Linked DNA regions of Homo sapiens: region 2 is linked to region 1. The links are contacts of gene promoters, found by promoter capture Hi-C in human tissues and cell types (Jung and others, 2019). All regions are on one chromosome and are shown on one strand. Each heading gives the region's core, a stretch centred on a gene start or on the middle of the fragment in contact. The rest is flanking DNA. Distances are from core to core; before and after follow the strand shown. Region 1 holds the start of KIF3B (kinesin family member 3B). Region 2 overlaps KIF3B (kinesin family member 3B).

Region 1 (7,371 bases), core at 273-2,772:
TTCAGGAAATACCAAAAGAGGCTGGGTGCAGTCTCTTTTGGTATTTCCTTTATTATTTTATTTAAAAATAAACTTCTTCACTGTAGAGAAAGTGTAAATCAAATTATGTGGGAGTTTTAATGGGCCAGGCCTGAGAATAGCACACATCACATTTAATTGGCCAGAACTTGGTCTGAACTGTAAGGAAGGCTGGGAAATACTGTCTAGTTGTGTGTCCAGGAGCAGGAAGAAATAACGTTTTTGAGAGGAAGTAGCAATATCTGCCACAACAGGCAAAAAGTAGTTGTAGGCAGATGAAGAAGACCATCTCAGGTATTCATTTATTCAAGGAGCAAAACATATTTGTTCAGCAACTACTATTGACTAAGCTTGGTTCCAGGCATGGTGGATACAAGAGTGAACAAATAAAAGACTGCTCTTATGCAGTTTCTATTTAGTGGGGAACAGCAGGTGTAAGTTCCATGGGGGTTGGAACCTGCCCTTCTAGGCCAGTGTGGTTGGAATAGAGTTTTAACGAATTTTGCAGGAAGTAATAAGGACTTCATATTTGATTCTAAGAGCAATGAGACTCCATTAAATCGAGTATTAATCAGAAAGTGGCATGATCTGTTTTATTTATTTATTTATTTATTTATTTATTTTAATCTTTATATCTGAGACGGAGTTTCGCTGTTGTCGCCCAGGCTGGAGTGCAGTGGTGCCATCTCTCTCACTGCAACCCCTGCCTCCCGGGTTCAAGCGATTCTCCTGCCTCAGCCTCCCGAGTAGCTGGGACTACAGGCATGCGCCACCACGCCCGGCTAATTTTTTGTATTTTTATTAGAGACGGGGTTTCGCCATGTTGGCCAAGCTGGTCTCGAACTCCTGACCTCAGGTGATTCACCTGCCTCAGCCTCCCAAAGTGCTGGGATTACAGCGGGAGCCACCGCACCTGGCCGCATGATCTGTTTTAAATAATTACTCTGGCCACCTTATGGAAAATGGATTGTTCGGACAGAGCTGGACAAAAGAATGGAAACAGACCAGATATTTCAGGCAGGCTAGAGATGAGCGTGGCCTGGCCTTGCCTGGGGCGGTTGTGACTGACTGGATTGGGTGAAGGACAGGAAAGCTACAACAAGGGTGCCTATAGGTGTTCGTATTGAGTCACTGGGGGCACCCTAAATGGGAGTTACCTCAGTAGCAGTTTGAGACACCAGTCAGATAATGGATGTGAAAGCTTTTAGAAAGGTTGAACGGCGGCTGAAATCGCGTGTGTTCCATTTACAGATGGGAAACTGAGGCACGAGATACCAGAGGATGGAGTCAGGCCACGTTGTGCGCCACTCTCCCCGCTTAGGTGGGTGAGGAGACCGAGGTGTGTTGGGCCCCCGCTAAACACCAGCACCGACCTGAGCCCCGCCCAGACCCCTCCAGCCGGCTTTCCCTGTCCTCTGCTCGTGTGCCAATAAAGTTATTGAAATTGACACCGGTTGCTAAGGAAGTGGGTCGCCGAGCCAGGTTGCTAAGGAAGTGAGCGGCCACTGTCTCTCCCCATCCGGGGCAGCGGGGAATGGCTGAGCCAGGGGTTCGCCGCCCCCGCCGCCGCCGCCGCCGCCGCCGCCGCCGCCGCCGCCCGCTTTCGGCTCGGGCCTCAGGTGAGTCGGAGGGGCCGGGCGCCCACCGAGCAGGGCTAATCCTGTGGCCGCCTGGGGTTTTCCCTGCGACCTGCGCCCGCGCCTCTGCCTGGCTTTGCTGTCCCGCGAGCCGGAGCATCCTCTGCCCTGCCTCCTAGGCATCCTTTGGTAGTCCGGACGGCCTTGCCCCTCCTTCCCCTGGCAGGGTCGCGGCCCGACCCCCAGACACGGCCACCTTGGGTCGCAGCCCACCTGGGGGCCCTGAGGCGGTGGTCAGGGCCCCAGTTTGGGAGGAGGGCGGGGAAGCGAGAGCCTGGGGTCCGAACCTCGGCGCTGTGCTGGGCTTGCTGTGTGACCTTGGGCAAGTCTTTTCACCTCCCTGGCCTTAGCTGACCTGTTTATTCAATGGGGTCCTAACATTGCTGCTCAGAGTGGTAAAGATAATGAGAAGTGTATGTGAAAGTGCCCTAAATGGGGAGAGGGAGAATTCTTAGGGCACCCTAGATGGGAGACCAAGAGGGCAGTTTGAAGTCTGAGCGAGTTAGAGACGTGGCATTTCCACTTAGTAACTGTGTGGCCCTGGGCAAGTTAATTTCTCTGAGTCTTCTTTTCCTTATCTGTGAAATGAGGTAATAGACTACTGTGGAAATCAGTGAGACTGGGTATGTCAAGTAGCTTGGCACATAGTAAGTGCTCAACCAGCTATTATGAGGCGTCCAGGGTAGGAGGGCAAGACTTCCAGGAGGAGATGACTTTGGGACAGGTAAGGTGTAGGTGTGTAGAGTGCCAGCTCATATGGGTAGTCCTACTGCAATGCCAACCCCCAACCCCGGTTTTACTTCTCCATTCTGCTCAGAGCAAGGGAGGTACTTCTACAAGTAGTCCTGGGAAACTCTTTGAGGTCAACCCCTTGTAGATAGCTGGGGTCATGGTCTCATTTTCTACCTGGGCTTCGTTGACCCTTCCAGAAGAAAAAAGGCATCTTTGTGTCCTTTGGGAAGTGCTTAAAGCAGTAATAACTATTTACAAGCATATGATTAAGAAGCACTTTACCAGGCATATTATTTCATTTAATCTTTATGTAGACTTTGCCAGGTGCCTGGTGATGTCATCCTCATTTTGCCGATGAGGAAACTGAGGTTCAGAAAAGTAAAGGGAAGGACCTGCTTAAGAATCCTTTTTTTTTTTTTTTTTTTTGAGACAGAGTCTTAGTCTGTTGCCCAGGCTGGAGTGCAGTGGCGCGATCTCAGCTCACTGCAACCTCCGCCTCGTGTGTTCAAGCGATTCTCCTGCCTCAGCCTCCCGAGTAGCTGGGACTACAGATGTTCACCACCTCGTCCACTAATTTTTGTAGTTTTAGTAGAGACAAGGTTTCACCATGTTGGCCTGGCTGGTCTCGAACTCCTGGCCTCAAGTGATATACCTGCCTCGGCCTCCCAAAGTGCTAGGATTACATGCGTGAGCCACCACACCCAGTCATTGCCTAAGAATCTTGTATCTATTAAGTGATGGAAGTGGACGTGTTTCTAGGTAAATCCTGTATTTTATCCCCCATTCACTGTTGCCTCTGATTTTGCAACAGTTGCTATTATAAGGCCACAGGGGTATTCTTTTGTTACTTTTAACTGGCTAGAAGTTAAAAGGCAAGGAAACAAGATCTCAGGTAAAGCTTTATTTAAATAGATACCACCCAAAGTGAGGATCTCAGAAAATAGTTGGAATCTTTTTTTTTTTTTTTGAGACGGAGTTTTGCTGTTGTTGCCCAGGCTGGAGTGCAATGGTGCCATCTCAGCTCACTGCAACCTCCGCCTCCCTGGTTCAAGCAGTTCTCCTGCCTCAGCCTCCCAAGTAGCTGGGATTACAGGCATGTGCCACCATGCCCGGCTAATTTTGTATTTTTAGTAGAGATGGGGTTTCTCCATGTTGGTCAGGCTGGTCTCAAACTCCCGACCTCAGGTGATCGCCTGCCTTGGCCTCCCAAAGGACTGGGATTACAGGCATGAGCCACTGTGCCCAGCCTGAGAGCTGGAATCTTTAAAAGAGGGCTTCTCTGTCCCTCATTCCCTCCTCATTAAAATGAGGGGACTAGGCTAGATTATACTGAAGGCCCTTTCAGTGCTGTTATGCAGTTGTGGTTAAAAGCTTGCAATCAGACTACCTGGACTAAAATCTTGGCTCTGCCACTTCCAAGCTGTGTGCTACTGAGCAAAGAGGTGCTACTTTACCTCTGAAATGATGCTCAGTACCTCTGAAATGATGAGAGGACTTTTTGGTAAGGGGCTCTGTGAGGAAGAATTATTCATAGTTCATTTTGAACCCCTTGGTGGTATAGTTTCCTCATCTGTAAAATGGGGATAGTAATAGGCCTTATTACCTGTGGCCTTATTATCATGTATGGCTGTTCTGAGGATTTATTTGAACTTAATATATGTGAAGTGCCCAGCATATTTGGTAAACATTAGCTATCGTTATTTGGGTTTAACGTGGTGCTTGTGCTGTATTTTCCGTGTATGGTTGGTGAAAGAATAAATTAAAGTATGTGATAATACCAGGTCCGTCAACCATAATGTCATTGCAAGCATGAAACAGTAGCCATCATGGCATTATATAAATGTTGATATTTTTATACAGTTGGCCCCAGGAACCTGTAATCATGTGCCACAATGGGTTGCAAAGAAAGGTAAAGCTGTCCAGGCATGGTGGCTCACGGCTGTAATCCCAGCACTTTGGGAGGCCAAGACGGGTGGATCACGAGGTCAGGAGATCGAGACCATCCTGGCTAGCACAGTGAAACCCCATCTCTACTAAAAGAAAAAAAAAATTAGCTGGGCATGGTGGCGGGCGCCTGTAGTCCCAGCTACTCGGGAGGCTGAGGCAGGAGAATGGCGTGAACCGGGGAGGTGGAACTTGCAGTGAGCCAAGATTGCGCCACTGCACTCCAGCCTGGGCGACAGAGCAAGACTCCGTCTCAAAAAAAAAAAAAAAAAAAAAAAAAAGAAAGAAAGATGAAAGCTGATGGTAGGACGTTAGGTTTAGTAGCTCAACATCCAATTCAGTAAATATTTGCTAAATCCCCTTATGCTAGGCACATGGAGGATGTGGAGGTCAATCCCATCTCCATATCCTTCGAGGAACTCAGAGCTTAATTTGCAAATTACTGCATTTGACATCTTTAAATGAATTCATATCTTATGTTTGCCTTGGCTGCAGAGTGAAGCCACTGATTCTAATCTGTTTTGTTGTGTCCCTAGACTTCTGTTAGGTGCCTGGATTAGAAACCTCAGATTGCTTCCTAAGCCTTTTCATCCATTAATTCGCAAGTCCCTGAGAAAGACCCCGTCTTATGTAACAGAGAGTAGCAATACTTGACAATAACAATAAGGTGCCTAATGGCTTACAAAAATGCCTACACTTGCTTACACATGCTTTTACTCATTTAATCTTATCTGTGTCCCTTCAAGGAAGGTAAGGTGCAGATTAGGATCTCTGTTTTATAGTCGAGGAATCTGAATGGAAGCCAAGAAGCCATGATGCTATTGAGTGGCCCATTTCACGTTGAAATCCAGTCTTCTGTCTTCAAATTCAGTGTACTTACCACTATCCTGCCCGGATTGTATTTATTCAGTATTTCCTGAGCACCTAGAATGTGTCAGTTCTGTTTTAGCCTGGAGATATCATGGTAGAAAGGTACAGAGTCCCTTGCTCTCATGCAGCTTATATTCTACTGGCAGCAAACAGAAAAATACAGCAGTAAATGAACAAGGGAATTTGGATGAGGAATAAGTGCTGGGGTGAAATCCCATCTCTATTAAAAATACAAAACTTAGCTGGGTGTGGTGGCACGTGCCTGTAGTCCCAGCTATTCAGGAGGCTGAGGCACAAGAATTGCTTGAACCTGGGAAGCAGAGGCTGCAGTAAGCCGAGGTTGCGCCATTGCACTCCAGCCTGGGCAACAGAGCGAGACTCCATCTCAAAAAGAAAAAAAACCCAACAAACAAAAAGAAAAAGAAAAGGCCTTGCTAGGATGGTGACGTTTTTGCTGAGATTTGCTCCCAGGGACGGGCCAGCCATTTGAAGACATGTCAGAAGGAAGAGCAAGGGTAAAGGCTGTGAGGTGGCAACAAGCTTGGTAAGTTCCAGAAACTGCAAGAAGGCTTACAATGGCAGGGACAGGTGAGTCAAAGGCAGAGTGGGGAGGTGGGTGGATGTAGGGGATGGAAGTGGTAGGGAGCGCTCAGATCATACAGGACCTTGTCTGCTAGAGTAATGAGTTGGGATTTTGTTCTAAAAGCTGTGGAAATCATTGGAGGTTCTGGAGAAGGGACGTGGCATGATCTATTTTTGTTTTTTAAAAAAATCACTCTGGCCTCTTTGTGGCAGTGAATTTTAGAGGGCATAGGAGTGGCAGCCAGGAGGCTAGTTAAGAGGTTAGGTGAGAGAAGATAGTGGCTTTCTAGGTTGGTGGCAGTGGAGATGGTAAGAGGACGGATTGGGGATGTGTTTCGGAGGTAGAACCAGCAGGATGGCGGGATGAGGGTGAGAGAATAAGGATGACTCCTGGGTTTTTGGCCTGAGCAATTAAGTAGATGTTAGAGATGCCATCTGCCTCTGAAATGATGAAAGGACTTTTTGGTAAGGGGCCCTATGAGGAAGAATTATTCATAGTTTATTTTGAACCCTGTAGAGGAGAGGCACAAGGTATAAGCATCATACTTTATAGTCTGTGGGGAGGAAATCCCAGATTATGCTGGCAGAAGCTAGCCAGGTGCAACTGATTGAAGCTTGACGTTCTTACTGTGAACCAAAAAAAAAAGTCCTGCTTTTCTACAGTCTGGCTTTTTGCCAGCCTGTGGAGCGGCAGGTGTGGGCTTTGCCAGGGCAGTACCCATCTGTCTTTCTGTCTTGTGCTGTTGGCATTGCAGTGCTGACTCGGGATCTTGGCTGAGGGAGCCTGGCCAGCTCTGGAAGAGGGAGCGGAATCACTAGTGAAGTTCACTTGGTGTGCCAAATGGCCACATTCTCCCTGCCAAAGTGGTTCTTTCCTGGTCACCAAATGACAGTTCTGAAGTTTCAGAGCTTTTGACTTCAGAATCCCTGGAAAACCTATTGTACTCTACCAGAATTCCTAGAGGATTCTTGAATCTCTTCTGAGCAAGGGAATTCGAGCTTCATTGTTATGTATTCCAGTAACTGTACTTGTAAATCTGGGCATTACAGGGTTGTACATTCAACATTGTGAATAGTAAAACTAATAGTCTTATCACTGCCACTTGTTTATTTAATTAAATTTAATAAATTTATTCATTTTGGAGACAGGGACTCCCTCTGTCACCCAGGTTGGAATGCAGTGGTGTGATCATGGCTCCCCCACAGCCTTGAACTCCTGGGCTCAAGTGATCCTTCTACCTCAGTCTCTTGAGTGGCTGGGACCGCAGGCATGTACTGTCGTGCCTGGCTAATTTAAAAAAAAATGTTTTGGGGACGGGTGTGGTGGCTTATGCCTGTAATCCCAGCACTTTGGGAGGCTGAGGTGTGCAGATCACGAGGTCAGGAGTTTGAGACCAGCCTGACCAACATGGTGAAACCCCTTCTTTACTAAGAATACAAAAATTAGCTGGGCGTGGTGGTGCGCACCTGTAATCCCAGCTACTCAGGAGGCTGAGGCAGGAGAATCGCTTGAACCCGGGAGGTGGTGGTTGCAGTGAGCTGAGATCGCACCACTGCACTCCAGCCTGGGCGACAGAGTGAGACTCCG
Region 2 (7,149 bases), core at 324-2,823, 43 kb after region 1:
AGGACACATATTTATTTATTTTTCAGTTTATATACATTCCGATTATTTCTAGTCTTTGGCTATTATGGATAATACTTCTATAAGCATTCATGTATAAGGTTTTGTATGGATGTGTGTTTTCATTTCTCTGGGATACATTCATAGGAGTGGAATTGCTGGGTCATATGGTAACTCAGTGTTTAACTTTTTGAGAGAATGCCAAACTGTTTGCCACAGTGGCTGCACTATTTTACATTTCTACCACCAATTTCTCCACATCTTCTTTTTTTTTTTTTTCTTTGAGACAGTCTCGTTCTGCCACCCAGGCTGGTGTGCAGAGGTGCAGTCTCAGCACACTGCAACCTCCACCTCCTGGGCTCAAGCGATCCTCCCACCTCAACCTCTGGAATAGCTGGGACTATAGCGGCATGCCACCCTACTTGGCTAATTTTTGTGTTTTTTGTAGAGATGGGGTTTCACCATGTTGCCTAGGCTGGTCTCAAACTCCTGGGCTCAAGCAGTCTGCCCGACTTAGCCTCCCAAAGTGCTAGGATTACAAGTGTGAGCCACCATGCCCGGCCTCTCCACATCCTTGTCGACACTTGTTATTTCCTGTCTCTTTTATCATAGACATCCTAACGAGTGTGAAATGGTACTTCATTATAGTTTTGATTTGCATATTTCTCTGATGACTAATGATGTTGAGCATCCTTTCACGGGCTTATTGGCCATTTGTATGTCTTTGGAGAAATATCTATACAAATCCTTTACCCCATTTTAAAATGGGGTTGTTTCATATATATATATATGTATATATTTCGTATATATATGAAATATATATATTTCATACACACACACACACACATATGTGTATATATATAGTTTTTTTTTGTTTTGTTTTTGTTTTTTTTTTTTTTTTTTTTGGAGTTGGAGTCTCGCTCTGTCATCCAGGCTGGAATGCAATGGCGTGAACTTGACTCATTGCAACCTCTGCCTCCTGGGTTCAAGCGATTCTCATGCCTCAGCCTCCCGAATAGCTGGGAATACAGGCACCCGCCACCATGCCCGGCTGATTTTTGTATTTTTAGTAGAGATGGGGTGTCACCATGTTGCCCAGGCTGGTCTTGAACTCCTAACCTCAGGTGATCCACCTGCCTTGGCATCCCAAAGTGCTTGGATTACAGGCATGAGCCACCATGTCCAGCCAATAATTAAGTTTTAAGAGTTTTTTTTGAGACAGAGTCTGGGTCTGTCACCCAGGCTGGAGTGCAATGGCATGATCTTAGCTCACTGCAGCCTCTGCCTCCTGGGTTCAAGTGATTGTCCTGCTTCAGCCTCCCGAGTAGCTGGGACTATAGGCATGTGCCACCATGCCCAGCTAATTTTTGTATTTTTAGTAGAGACGGGGTTTTACCATCTTGGCCAGGCTGGTCTGGAACTCCTGACCTCAGGTGATCCACCCGCCTCAGCCTCCCAAAATGCTAGGATTACAGGCGTGAGCCACTGTGCCCGGCTGAGTTTTAAGAGTTCTTTATATTAATATATTATGAATACCACTTTCTCATGAGATTCATGATTTGAAGATGCTTTCTGTTATTCTGAGTTGTTTTTAAACTTTCTTGATGGTATTACTTATAGCACAAAAGATTTCCGTTGTGATATAGCCCAATTTAATTGTATTTTCTTTTGTTTATTTTACTTTTGGTATTGTATCTAGATTTGCCTTTTCTGGACCTTTCATATAAGTTTATAAATGAAATAATGTTGGAATAATGTGGCCTTTTGTGACTGCTTTCTTCATATGTGTGTGTGTGTGTGTGTGCATGTGTGTGTTTTGTTAGTTTTTTTTTTTTTTTAGAGATAAGGCCTTCTTCTGTCAATCAGACTGGAGTGCAGTGGTGCCATCATAGCTCACAGCCTTGACCTCTTGGGTTCAAGTAATCTTCCTGCTTGAGCCTCCTGAGTTGCTAGGACTTCAGTTGCATGCTAGCACACCTGGCTAATTTTTTAAAATTTTTTCATAAGGATGGGTCTTGCTGTGTTGCCAAAGCTAGTATAGTGTTTTCAACAGTCTTCCATGTTGTAGCATGTATCAATACTTTATTCATTTTTTATGACCAAATAATATTCTGTTGTATAAATATACCACATTTTATTTATCCATTCATTATTTGATGGACATTTGGGTTATTTCTACTTTTGGGTGTTATGAATAATGCTGCTGTGAACATTCATATTCAAGTTTCTTTTGTGGACGCATGTTTCATTCTCTTAGATCCTCTAAGAGGCTTATAGTGTTAGGTCTTACATTTAGGTCTATGATCCATTTGAGTTAATTTCTGTGTATGGTATGAGGTAGGGTTTCAAGTACAGTGTTTTGGATGCAGATATCTAGTTGTTCCAGCACCATTTGTTGAAAGGGCTTTTCTCTCCCATTTCATTGTCTTGGCATACTTATTGAAAGTCAGGGCCGGGCGCTGTGGCTCATGCCTGTAATCCCAGCATTTGGGAGGCCGAGGTGGGTGGATCACCTGAGGTCAGGAGTTCGAGATCACCCTGGCCAATATGGTGAAACCCTGTCTCTACTAGAAATACAAAAATTAGCCAGGTGTGGTGGTGCACACCTGTAGTCCCAGCTACTCAGGAGGCTGAGGCAGAGGAATCCCTTGAACCTGGGAGGTGTAGGTTGCAGTGAGCTGAGATCATGCCACTGTACTCCAGCCTGGGCAACAGAGCAAGACTCTGTCTCAAAAAAAAAAAAAAGAAAGTCAGTTGACCGTAATTAAGCATTTATTTATTTATTTCTGGACTTTCAATACTGTTCCATTGTTCTATATATCTATCCTCATGCTAGTACCATTCTGTCTTAATTACTATAGCTTTGTTAGTTTTGAAATCAGGAAGTGTGAGTCCTCCAGCCTTGTTCTTTTTCAGGAGTGTTTTGACTGTTCAGGGTCCCTTGCATTTCCATATTCAAACATACTTTGTTTTACTGCACTCTGCTTTGTTATAATTCACAGATATTACATTTTCTACAAATTGAAGGTTTGTGGAAACCCTGCATAAAGCAAGTCTGTTGGCACCATTTTTTCAACAGCATATGCTCTCTTCATGTCTCTGTGTAAGCATTTATTAGCAATAAAGTATTCTTAAAGTCTATACTTTTTGTAGACAAAATGGTATTATACATTTAATAGACTACAGTATAGTGTAAGCATAACTTTTATATGCACTGGGAAACCAAAAAATTGTGTTACTTGCTTTATTGTGATACTTACTTTATTGGAGTAGTCTGGAACCAAACCCACAGTATCTCTGAGGTATGCCTCTACATTTTAAGGTCAGCTTGTCAATTTCTGCAAACAAAGCCAGCTGGGATTTTGATATTGATCACATTGAATCTGTAGATCAATTTGGGCAATATTGTAATCTTAACAGTATTAAGTATTCAGATCCATGAACATGAGATGTCTTTCCATTTATTTATTATTTCTTTAATTTTTCTCGAGAATGTTTTGTAGTTTTCAGTGTATAATTCTTACACTTTTGTTAAATTTATACCTAAGGGTTTTTTGGGTGCTATGGTATATGACATTGTTTTCTTAATTTTATTTTTGGAATATTAATTACTAGTATATAAAAATACTGGCTGGGCATGGTGGCTCACACGTGTAATCCCAGCACTTTGAGAGGCCCAGGTGGACGGATCACCTGAAGTCAGGAGTTTGAGACCAGCCCGGCCAACATGGTGAAACCCTGTCTCTACAAAAATACAGAAATTAGCCAGGCGTGGTGGCGGGTGTCTATAATCCCAGCTACTTGGGAGGCTGAGGCAAGAGAATCGCTTGAACCCTGGAGGCGGAGGTTGCAGTGAGCCGAGATTGCGCCATTGCACTCCAGCCTGGGCGACAGAGCGAGAATCCGTCTCAAAAAAAAAATTTTATATATTTATATATATTTATATATATATTTTTATATATTTATATATATATTTATATATTTATATATATTTATATATATTTATATATTTATATATATTTATATTTATTTATTTATATATATTTATTTATATATATATTTATATATATTTATATATATATTTATATATATTTATATATATATTTATATATATTTATATATATTTATATGTATATTTTTATATATTTATATATATTTATATATACATATTCATATATATTTTTATATATTTATATACATATTCATATATATTTTTATATATTTATATATACATATTTATATATATACATATTTATATATATACATATTTATATATATACACATATTTATATATACATATATTTATATTTATATATATTTATATTTATATATTTATATATTTATATTTATATATATTTATATTTATATATATTTATATATTTATATATATTTATATTTATATATTTATATATATTTATATATTTATATTTATATATTTACATATATTTATATATTTATATTTATATATTTATATTTATATATTTATATATATTTATATTTATATATAATTGATTTTTGTCTACACAATGATATTTTTATACCTAAAAAAATTAAGTTTCTTAGTATTTTCTAGTACCCAATCCACATTCAGATTTTCTTGGTTTGCTCGTTTTAAGATCTACATATTAGGACTACATGTTACATTTGGTTATTAAGTCTCTTAGACTTATTTTAATCTGAGGCAATTCTTTTTATTTTTTATTTTATTTATTTGTTTATTTGAGACAGAGTCTCACTTTGTCGCCAGACTGGAGTGCAGTGGCGCGGTCTCGGCTCACTGCAAACTCTGCCTCCCAGGTTCAAGTGATTCTCCTGCCTCGGCCTCCCAGGTAGCTGGGACTACTCGAGTAGTGAGCCACCACGCCCAGCCAATTCTTTTTATTTTTAAAAATATTTTTCAGCCGAGCATGGTGGCTCGTACCTGTAATCCCAGCACTTTGGGAGGCTGAGGCAGGTGGATCATGAGGTCAGGAGTTCAAGACCAGCCTGGCCAAGATGGTGAAACCCCCATCTCTACTAAAAATACAAGAATTAGCTGGGTGTGGTGGCGGGCGCCTGTAATCTCAACTACTCGGGAGGCTGAGGCAGGAAAATTGCTTGAACCTGGAAGGCGGAGGTTGCAGTGAGCCAAGATTGTGCCACTGCACTCCAGCTGGGGCAACAAGAGCGAAACTCCATCTCAAAAAGTATATATATACATATTTTTCATAGTTGACTTGTTGAAAAGACTGAATCAGATAGCCTGTAGAAATATCCCACATTGTAGGCGGGAGTGGTGGCATGTGCCTGTAGTTCCAGCTACTTGGGAAGCTGAGGCAGGAGGATTGCTTGAGCCCAGGAGTTCAAGGCTGCAGTGAGCCAAGATTATGCCACTGCATTCCAGTCTGGGTGACCGAGTGAGACACCAACTCAAAAGAAAAAAAAAAAAGAAGAAATATACTACATTCTGGATTTGTTGGTCTCTTTCTTCATGGTGTCAATTAACTTGTATCTCTATCCCCTTTATTTAGCTCTAACTGAAAGCTATCTCTGAAGCACGGGTTCCCAACCTTGGCTACAAACTGAGAAGTTTTAAAAATTAATGATGTCTGAGCCCCACCTCAGAGATTCTGATTTAATTGGTCTAGGGCAGTAGTCCTTAAACTTTAGCAGGCATCAGAATTACCTGAAGGGATTGTTAAACACAGATTGCTGGGTATCACACCCGGAGTCTGATTCAGAAAGGCTGGGGCAGGGCCTGAGAATGTTCATTTCTAGTAGGTTCCAGGTATTGCTTCTGCTGGTTTGGTGAATGCACTTTGAGAACTCTTGGTCTCTCATGAGGTCTGGGCAAGATATTTTTCAAAACTCTGTAGGTAACGTTAATGTGCAGCCTGGCCTGAGAAATGTGGAGCTAATAGTTTCAGCCAACAGATGATCTTTGTCTGGATCCATTATTTCATTAGTGGGGTTACAAAATGACCATGCCTGGCCAAAGAAGAAGTTTTCAAAGGGATTCTTTTAATGATCAAATTTTAAATTTGGAAAAGAGCCCTTAAAATTAAATGTAGGCAAGGTGCGGTGGCTCATGCCTATAATCCCAGCACTTTTGGAGGCTGAGGTGGGCAAATTGCCTGAGCTCAGGAGCTCAAGACCAGCCTGGGCAACATGGTGAAACCCTGTCTCTACTAAAAATACAAAAAAATTAGCTGGGCATGGAGACATGTGTCTATAGTCTCAGCTACTCCGGGGGCTGAGGCACGAGAATCGCTTGAACCTGGGAGACGAAGGTTGCAGTGGGCTGAGATTGCGCCACTTTACTCCAGCCTGGGCGACAAAGTGAGACTCTGTCTCCAGAAAAACTAATTAATTAATTAAATGTGTGTGTCGGTCAGTCCTCTTTGCAGGTATGTACATCTAGAAAAAGATCAGGACAAAATATACCAACATAATAATAATAGTTATCTCTGGATAGTGAAATTGTGGGTGATTATGTTTTTTACATTTTCTTTTTGTTGTTGTTGTTGTTTGAGACAGAGTATTGCTCTGTCACCCGGATTGGAGTGCGGTGGCACGATCTTGGCTCACTGCAACCTCTGCCTCCCAGGTTCAAGTGAATTTCATGCCTCAGCCTCCCAAGTAGCTGGGATTACAGGTGCAGGTCAACCACGCACGGCTAATTTTTATATTTTTAGTAGAGACAGGGTTTTGCCATGTTTATCAGGCTGGTCTCGAACTCCTGACCTCAGGTGATCCACCCACCTCGGCCTCCCGAAGCACTGAGATTACAGGTGTGAGCCACTGGGCCTGGCCTGTTTTTTACATTTTCTAATGAATAAATAGAATCATTGTAACCAGAAGAAAGCCAAATATGTGTTATAAAAAATAGTTTCTGAAATGTCAAAGAGAAAATTTTAGCTCCCCAAAATATTTTTTTTTCTAAGGAGTCTATTTTCATTATTATCTCTCTCTCTCTCTCTTTTTTTTTTTTTTTTTTTTTTTTTTTTTTGAGACAGAGTTTTGCTCTTTGGCCCAGGCCAGAGTGCAGTGGTGTGATCTCGGCTCACTGCAACCTCTGCCCTCTGGGTTCAAGTGATTCTCCTGTCTCAGCCTCCTGAGTAGCTGGGATTATAGGTGCCTACTACCACACACAGCTAATTTTTGTATTTTTAG

Evidence for each region. Contacts are between HindIII fragments. The study calls those that stand out against the background at their distance.
Region 2: a fragment that was not itself captured here is called in contact with the fragment with the promoter of KIF3B in region 1 in 1 of the 25 tissues and cell types used here (psoas muscle).

Annotation. Positions count from the first base shown.
Region 1 is chr20:32,276,129-32,283,499 of GRCh38, forward strand. KIF3B (kinesin family member 3B) reads left to right here and starts at 1,523. Exons shown (of 9, transcript NM_004798.4): 1 at 1,523-1,637. It overlaps LOC124904885 (a long non-coding RNA gene), which reads right to left and starts at 1,415. Exons shown (of 2, transcript XR_007067561.1): 1 at 1,176-1,415. RefSeq lists enhancers at 1,279-1,328, 1,375-1,885 and silencers at 1,539-1,698, 1,719-1,898. The HindIII fragment of the contact is 2,728 bases long and covers 794-3,521 here.
Region 2 is chr20:32,318,701-32,325,849 of GRCh38, forward strand. The region is part of intron 5 of KIF3B (kinesin family member 3B); the gene reads left to right. Among named protein-coding and RNA genes, the nearest start is that of ASXL1, 36 kb to the right of the region's middle. The HindIII fragment of the contact is 8,391 bases long and covers 1-5,769 here.